Regions from separate parts of the Homo sapiens genome. Here region 2 is linked to region 1. Evidence: promoter capture Hi-C in human tissues and cell types (Jung and others, 2019). All regions are on one chromosome and are shown on one strand. The core of a region is centred on a gene start or on the middle of the fragment in contact, and the rest is flanking DNA. Distances in the headings are between cores, read along the strand shown.

Evidence for each region. Contacts are between HindIII fragments. The study calls those that stand out against the background at their distance.
Region 2: a fragment that was not itself captured here is called in contact with the fragment with the promoter of FAM181B in region 1 in 2 of the 25 tissues and cell types used here (aorta and pancreas).

What each region holds. Positions count from the first base shown.
Region 1 is chr11:82,732,581-82,736,595 of GRCh38, reverse strand. It overlaps FAM181B (family with sequence similarity 181 member B), which reads left to right and starts at 2,732. Exons shown (of 1, transcript NM_175885.4): 1 at 2,732-4,015. The coding sequence starts at 2,867. The HindIII fragment of the contact is 21,418 bases long and covers 1-4,015 here.
Region 2 is chr11:82,802,706-82,806,444 of GRCh38, reverse strand. The region is part of intron 2 of LINC02734 (long intergenic non-protein coding RNA 2734); the gene reads right to left. It also overlaps the pseudogene RBMXP3. Among named protein-coding and RNA genes, the nearest start is that of LINC02734, 23 kb to the right of the region's middle. The HindIII fragment of the contact is 4,934 bases long and covers 1-3,739 here.

The sequences.
Region 1 (4,015 bases), core at 1,483-3,982:
GAATGGCCCTGTTGGAAAGGGGATGGGCAGTGCTGACATCCACATCTGGAGTGGAAGAAGCACAAATCAGTGACAGGTCTGCACAATTTTCTGAATGTGAATACCACCAAGAGTAAAACAGACAGTTCGGCCATGGAGGACAAAATGCTGTGTGTAACTCAAATGAAAAGTCCATGATAATTGAGCCAATTTGAATTTAAAATAAAAAGTTTGGCTCAGCTATGTGGGTTTGGGAAGTGGCTACTTCATCTTCTAAATGAAAAATGTTCATCTGGCCTTTTTTCTTTCTTTCTTTTTTATTATACTTTAAGTTCTAGGGTACATGTGCACAATGTGCAGGTTTGTTACGTATGTATACATGTGCCATGTTGGTGTGCTGCACCCATTAACTTGTCATTTACATTAGGTATATCTCCTGACGCTATCCCTCCCCCATCCCCCCACCCCACGACAGGCCCCGGTGTGTGATGTTCCCCACCCTGTGTCCAAGTGTTCTCATTGTTCATTTCCCACCTGTGCAGTGTTTGGTTTTCTGTCCTTGCGATAGTTTGCTCAGAATGATGGTTTCCAGCTTCATCCATGTCCCTACAAAAGACATGAAGTCATCCTTTTTTATGGCTGCATAGTATTCTATGGTGTATATGTGCCACATTTTCTTAATCCAGTGTATCACTGATAGACATTTGGGTTGGTCCCAAGTCTTTGCTATGTGAATAATAGTCTTTGCTATGTGCCACAATAAACATACGTGTGCACGTGTCTTTATAGCAGCAAGATTTATAATACTTTGGGTATATACCCAGTAATGGGATGGCTGGTTCAAATGGTATTTCTAGTTCTAGATCCTTGAGGAATCGCCACACTGTCTTCCACAATGGTTGAACTAGTTTACAGTCCCACCAACAGTATAAAAGTGTTCCTATTTCTCCACATGCTCTCCAGCACCTGTTGTTTCCTGACTTTTTAATGATCGTCATTCTAACTGGTGTGAGATGGTATCTCATTGCGGTTTTGATTTGTATTTCTCTGATGGCCCATCTGGCCTTTTTTCTTTGGTAAGGCTGTGCCTTCATGGTGTTCAAAAATGGTTTCGCTACATCTACAAAGTGAGGCTTAATAAAAAGAGTTTTGAAAGAGATGGTCTATGTCTCTCCTATGCAAGCTCTGTATCGAAACTAGAGTAACTTATTTAGAGAACACTTTATCACACACACAGTGTTTTCATATAGAGACAGTCCCCAACTTATGATGGTTCAACTTTATGATTTTCCAACTTGAATCAGTGTATTACATGCATTTTAACCTACAATATTTTCAACTTACAATGTGTTTATCAGGATGTTGTTGCTCTATCACAAATTGAGAAGCATCTATGATCTCACTTAATGCTCATGAACACCCTATGATCCAGAAGACACGTAAGGGATATAGTCACCTTTTTGTGTTTCAGAGAAGTAAGGGTGAATACTCATCCAGGCTATGGAACAATGTATCATTTAAATATCACAAGTGCCCTGTGGGGAGGGCAACTTTACCTGCATTTAACATGAGTAAGCTAAACAGAGAGAGTACGCTGGTTTGTCTAAAGCCATGCACTCAGCAGAGCAAGGATTTCAACCTAAGTCATGAGGTTATTGAGTGGTGGCTAAGACCAGAACCCAAGCCTCTTCTGAATCTCTTGTGAAAATGACCTTATTGCTCATTTTCTCTATCTATCCCAAAGAGGATTGCCCAGGTGAAATTAGTTTTAAGTGAACTTCATGATGATCCCTGAAATGCAATGAAAATTCCAGGGATAACCTAAATGGTATGACAGGTAGGGGAGAGGTTCCAATCCATCTTTTATTCTAACATGCTGAGAGTTTTATACACACACAGTGTTCTCAAGTAACAGGGGGCTTAGCCAGATCGACTCCTTTCTCCATTGCCTCCTGCTATGTGTTAATAAAAGATGGGCCACTGCTGGCCTCAATTTACTGTTAGCCAATTGTTACTCGTAACAATCAAGTGGCAAACAGTCAAGAAGAAAGAGCACTGGGCTTGAGAATCCTGGGAAAACTCAGGTTAGAATCTTAGGATCAGGTCTAGAGCTTTAAGAAATACTCATTTTCCTTCCCCATCTTAATAGATGAGAAAGGCAAGGGCAAGAGAGGACGCAAGTATTGTCAAGGGCTTAGGAATGGCTTTGGAGTCAGAATGGGCTAGATCTGACTTTGGCCAACTCACTGAACCTCCCTGAGGTGCAGTGTCCACGTTTGTTGAATGGCGATAACATGTAATTCACAGGGCTGTTGTTCAAGGATTAAATGAGATAATAGATGGACAGCGCCTGGCAGAAGCAAGCGCCCAGAAGCTGGTGGGTGTTGTTATACAGCTGGACTGAAACCCACGTCTCTAGACTCCTGCCTTCTTGCCTCAGGAGAGGCACCACCGCAAGTACCTGCAGAAGCCTATCAAGCGCTGCAGCGGCCTCATGGGCCTGAACTGGAGTTTGAGACCAGCCATCTCTTCCTCACCCCTTGCGGTTAGAGGAGTCAAGAGAAACACCACGGGGCAAAGGGAAACGAAGGAGTTAAGGCGTTGAGCTTCAGAAAGCTCAGAAAACTAAAGCGACCCCCCACTCCTCCAAGCCAGGCTAAGTAAGCCCCTCCCCTCTACCACCGGGACGGTCGCCGCGCGCTCCCTCCCTCCGCCCCTTGCTTACAAGACCTAATGAGCTCCCCCGGGAGGCAGCGCAGCGAGCCAGGCCCGGAACTAGTAGGCTGCGCCGCGCGCGCCGCGCCGGGGCGGGAGCTGGGTCTGGGCGGCGGGCAGGAGCTGGCGGGGGCGCACGGGCAGCGCTGCGGACAGCCCGGGAGCCGCGGCGATGGCGGTGCAGGCGGCGCTCCTCAGCACGCACCCTTTCGTGCCCTTCGGCTTCGGGGGCTCCCCGGACGGGCTAGGGGGCGCCTTCGGAGCCCTGGACAAGGGCTGCTGTTTCGAGGACGATGAGACCGGGGCTCCGGCGGGTGCGCTGCTGTCGGGAGCCGAAGGAGGGGACGTGCGCGAGGCCACCCGCGATCTACTCAGCTTCATTGACTCGGCGTCCAGCAACATCAAGCTGGCGCTGGACAAGCCGGGCAAGTCGAAGCGGAAGGTGAACCACCGCAAGTACCTGCAGAAGCAGATCAAGCGCTGCAGCGGCCTCATGGGCGCCGCGCCCCCCGGCCCGCCCTCCCCGAGCGCCGCCGACACGCCAGCCAAACGGCCGCTGGCCGCCCCTAGCGCCCCGACAGTCGCGGCCCCGGCCCACGGCAAGGCTGCCCCCCGGCGGGAGGCGTCGCAGGCCGCCGCGGCCGCCAGCTTGCAAAGCCGAAGTCTGGCCGCGCTCTTCGACTCGCTGCGCCACGTCCCCGGGGGTGCCGAGCCGGCGGGGGGTGAGGTGGCTGCGCCGGCGGCCGGGCTAGGAGGTGCGGGCACTGGGGGCGCGGGAGGGGACGTGGCAGGCCCCGCGGGGGCCACGGCGATCCCAGGGGCCAGGAAGGTCCCGCTGCGGGCACGCAATCTGCCTCCGTCCTTCTTCACGGAGCCGTCCCGGGCAGGCGGCGGCGGGTGTGGCCCGTCGGGGCCGGACGTGAGCTTGGGCGACCTGGAGAAGGGCGCGGAGGCCGTGGAGTTCTTTGAGCTGCTGGGGCCCGACTACGGCGCCGGCACGGAGGCGGCAGTCTTGCTTGCCGCCGAGCCTCTCGACGTGTTCCCCGCCGGAGCCTCCGTACTGCGGGGACCCCCGGAGCTGGAGCCCGGCCTCTTTGAGCCGCCGCCGGCAGTGGTGGGAAACCTACTGTACCCCGAGCCCTGGAGCGTCCCGGGCTGCTCCCCGACCAAAAAGAGCCCCCTGACTGCCCCCCGCGGCGGCTTGACCTTGAACGAGCCCTTGAGCCCCCTGTACCCCGCCGCTGCGGATTCTCCCGGCGGGGAGGACGGGCGGGGCCATTTGGCCTCTTTCGCCCCCTTCTTTCCAGACTGCGCCCTGCCC
Region 2 (3,739 bases), core at 298-2,797, 71 kb before region 1:
GCTTGAACTGCTGTAGGAATCACGTGGAGGAGGGTGCCCCCTTTCCATAGAAGGAGGAAGCCCTCTTTCTTATCTGCCAACCCGATCACGACCACTTGAGTAGAGATCACTTCAGCTGCTGAGTAACTGTCTGACTTCCACCATATCCATCACGTGAGCTGCTGTAATCATCATAGCGACTGCTTCCGCCGTAAGCTGGCAGGGGCCCTCGTGTATGTCCAGCACTACTTGAGTTACCATAACTCTCATATGAATCTCTGTAGGAACCTCCATTTGGATGATCTGAATAGTCAAGATCACGACCATATCCCTCTCTATCGCCATAGCCTCTTGATGGATAGTCATCACGTGAACTGGAATGACCATAGTCACGGTAAGTATAATCTTGTGGTGGTGGTGTATAATCTCTTGTATCACGAGAACTTGGGTAATCTTTGCTGGAATAGCTGTCTTTAGTAGAATACACATCATCTCTTGGGGACAAATAAATATCTCTGTGAGAGGGCAGCGGTTCCCTTCGAGGTGGACCTCCGTAACTATCTCTTCCACGTGATACAGGAGCTCTTCCTCCCATTCCACTGCTGCTGCAAACTGGTCCTGAAAGTGCAGATCTCTTAGGAGGAGGACCCGCACTTCTTAATGGGGGTCCTCTTTTTACTGGGAGTAATCCCCTGGAAGAACTCATGTTAAAATTCATGGACTATCCACCATCATACATGTGTCCTCCCCGTGAGGGAGGTCTCCTGGTTCCTCCACTTCCTCCTCTTCCACCTCTAAGACCTCTTGGAGGGCCTCTACTTCTTGGAGGTGGAGGGGTCCACGTCTACTACTTTCAAATGATGGTTTGGTGGTTTGTTCCACCTTAATGGCTTTTCCATCTAGTGACTTTCCATACACGTCTCTGGCTGCATCCTTATCGTCTCCTGGGCTATCAAAGGTGACAAAAGCAAATCCTCTTTATCTGTTCGTTTCATCAAGAGTACTTCCACTATTCGTCCATATTTGCCAAATACTACTTCAAGACTTTTCTCACTTGTTTCCGTATTAAGCCCACAAATGAAGAGCTTTCCTGGGCGATCTACTTCAACCATTTTTTGTTTGTTTGTTTTTGTTTGCCGGTGAGTCAGAGGAGTAACAATGGGTTCGAGCTTCAACAAGCTTGCAGACAGGGGCTTCCTAGCAGCTCAGCACCAGTGGTGGCTGCCCGGTCCAAGGACCGAACCTTGAAGTCGCTAGCACTACTGCACAACAAAAACAATTTCTTCTTTGTCTATTCTTCTGTAGCTAGACATCTGGGTTATTTAAAGTTTCGGCTATTATAAATAAAGCTCTTATGAGTATTACATTACAAAACTTTTTGTGAATATTTGTACATGTTTATTTTAGGCATATACCTAAGAGTGGAATTGCTTGGTAGATATATGTTTATGTTTATGATAATTGTTAGACCAATTTCTAAAATTGGCTTAAAATTGTAGAGTTCCACTCACAATGCATGAAGGTTCAAATTACTCTATCTCCTTGATTACTTTTTGTGGCCAATCTTTTTTTAAAATTTGGCCATTCTGGTGGGTGTGTAATGGCATCTCATTTTGGTTTTATTTATTTTTTTTTTGAAAAGCGTGTGTTTTTAGTTTTTATGAAGTTGGATTTATTATTTTTTGTGTGAGAAAGAAAGTGACTTTTGTGTCTTAACTAAAACACTTTTGCCCACTCCAAGGTCATGAAAATACTCTCTACGTTTTCTTCTAGGATCTTTATAGTTTTAGCTTTCACATTTAGGTCTGTGACACAGATTTAATTACTCATTTATGTGCTGTGAGGTAGGGGTTAAGGTTAATTTTTATAAGTTTCAAACATATGTAAAAATATAATAGTATGATGAGCCCCCAAGTACCCATCACTCTGCTTTGATAATTATCATGGCCAATATTGTTAGATATATTCTCCTCACCCACTTTCCTTAATTCAAACTGAATTATTAGTAAGAAAATTTCTGATATCATACTTTTCATTATTACTATTTCAGTATATATCTCTAAGAGATAAGGAGTGTTTAAAAAACAATGCAACCACAACACTCCTATTATATCTAAGCAAGTAACCATAATTCCTCAATATCATCAAATATAGAATGATTTTCCACATTTTCCCAGTTGTCTCATAAATTTAAAAAATTATTTTTTTTATGTTATTTTTTTGAGATGGAGTTTCACTCTTGTTGCCCAGGCTGTAGTGCAATGGTGTGATCTCGGCTCACTGCAACCTCTGCCTCCTGATTCAAGCAATTCTCCTGCCTCAGCCTCCCAAGTAGCTGGGATTACAGGCATGTGCCACCGTACCCAGCTAATTTTATTGTATTTTTTAGTAGAGATGGGGTTTCACTATGTTGGTCAGGCTGGTCTCGAACTCCTGACCTCAGGTGATCCACCCACCTTGGCCTCCCAAAGTGTTGGGATTACAGACATGAGCCACCGCGCCTGGCTAAAAATTAGTTTATTTTTAAAACTAAACTACGATCCAAGTGATTTCTTTTTATTGATTTGGTTGCAAAGTCTTGCAAGTATAATTTAATAAATATACTTCTACCCTTTACAAGTTATTTGTTGAAGAAATGTTGACATTTTTTCCCCTATAGTTTCCCATACTCCACATTTTGCTGTTTGAATCTCTTTGGTGTGATTTAAAATGTTCCCTCTCTTCTGAAATTGCTGCGAACTGATGATTAAATCAACACTCCCCAAGGGGCTCAAAGACACATCCAAATGGCTCAGGACCTGTGAATTCACTGGCTAGGAGAAATGGCAACAAGTTTGATCTCCTCTAAATTAATGTTTCCAATTTCTCTTCTTCCTTTCTTACAGAATACAAAGGGAGAAATCCTCTCATTCTGAGTAGCTCCATTCTTCCCCTGTTGGCCTCCTGGGTCAAGTGGGTCAAATATTCCTTTCTGTTCAGAGGTCCCTTGGTGCAGTGGGGCCCTTTCTGCTCCACACTGGGGCATAATTTGGTATACTCACTTACCTGGATTAGGAACCTGAGCTACCTCTTCCTTCAGGTACAGAGATCTTGGTGCAGTGACACCCCCTCTACTCCATGCCTGGATTTATCTCCAGGCATTCAGCACACCCACTGTTTAGGTGTTTAGGCCACCCCTCCTTTCCTGGGTGGAAAACTTGGGGAAGCAGAAGTTTCTCCACTCCATACTCAGGCACAACTCTAGGTGCTTGGTGGCTGCCTTCTGGACTTTACTTTGGAGCCAGTGCTTACACCTGCCACTGGGGGATGAAGAGGTGGGCCTGCCCAATTTGGCAGGCCAAGCTTGGTCTCTCCTGGAACTGAGCAGGGAGCTCAGACCACTGTGCATTCCACAGGATGGTCTATTGCCTGAGGCAACAGGGAGCATCTTATGGCAAACAAAGATCAAGCATATACCCATTTACCTCAGCTGCACCTGGCTGTTACCCATAAGCATCACCCACAGACTGAGGATGAACTGCACAAGCCAAAATATACTTTGCTGACATAAGCACACAGCAGTGGGGAACTAGATTAGCTTCCTGAGGCCTCTGCTACACGAGCCATGCAGGAGGCAGAGAGCCTGCTCATCTGCCCAGTACATTGCTAGCACAGCCAGCATTTAAGAAAGCTACTGTACAAAAGCTATCTGTAACTAAGGAAACTACACAAAGTCTTTGCCACTGGAAGCACCCAGAACCAAAGCCAAAGGACTCAATAC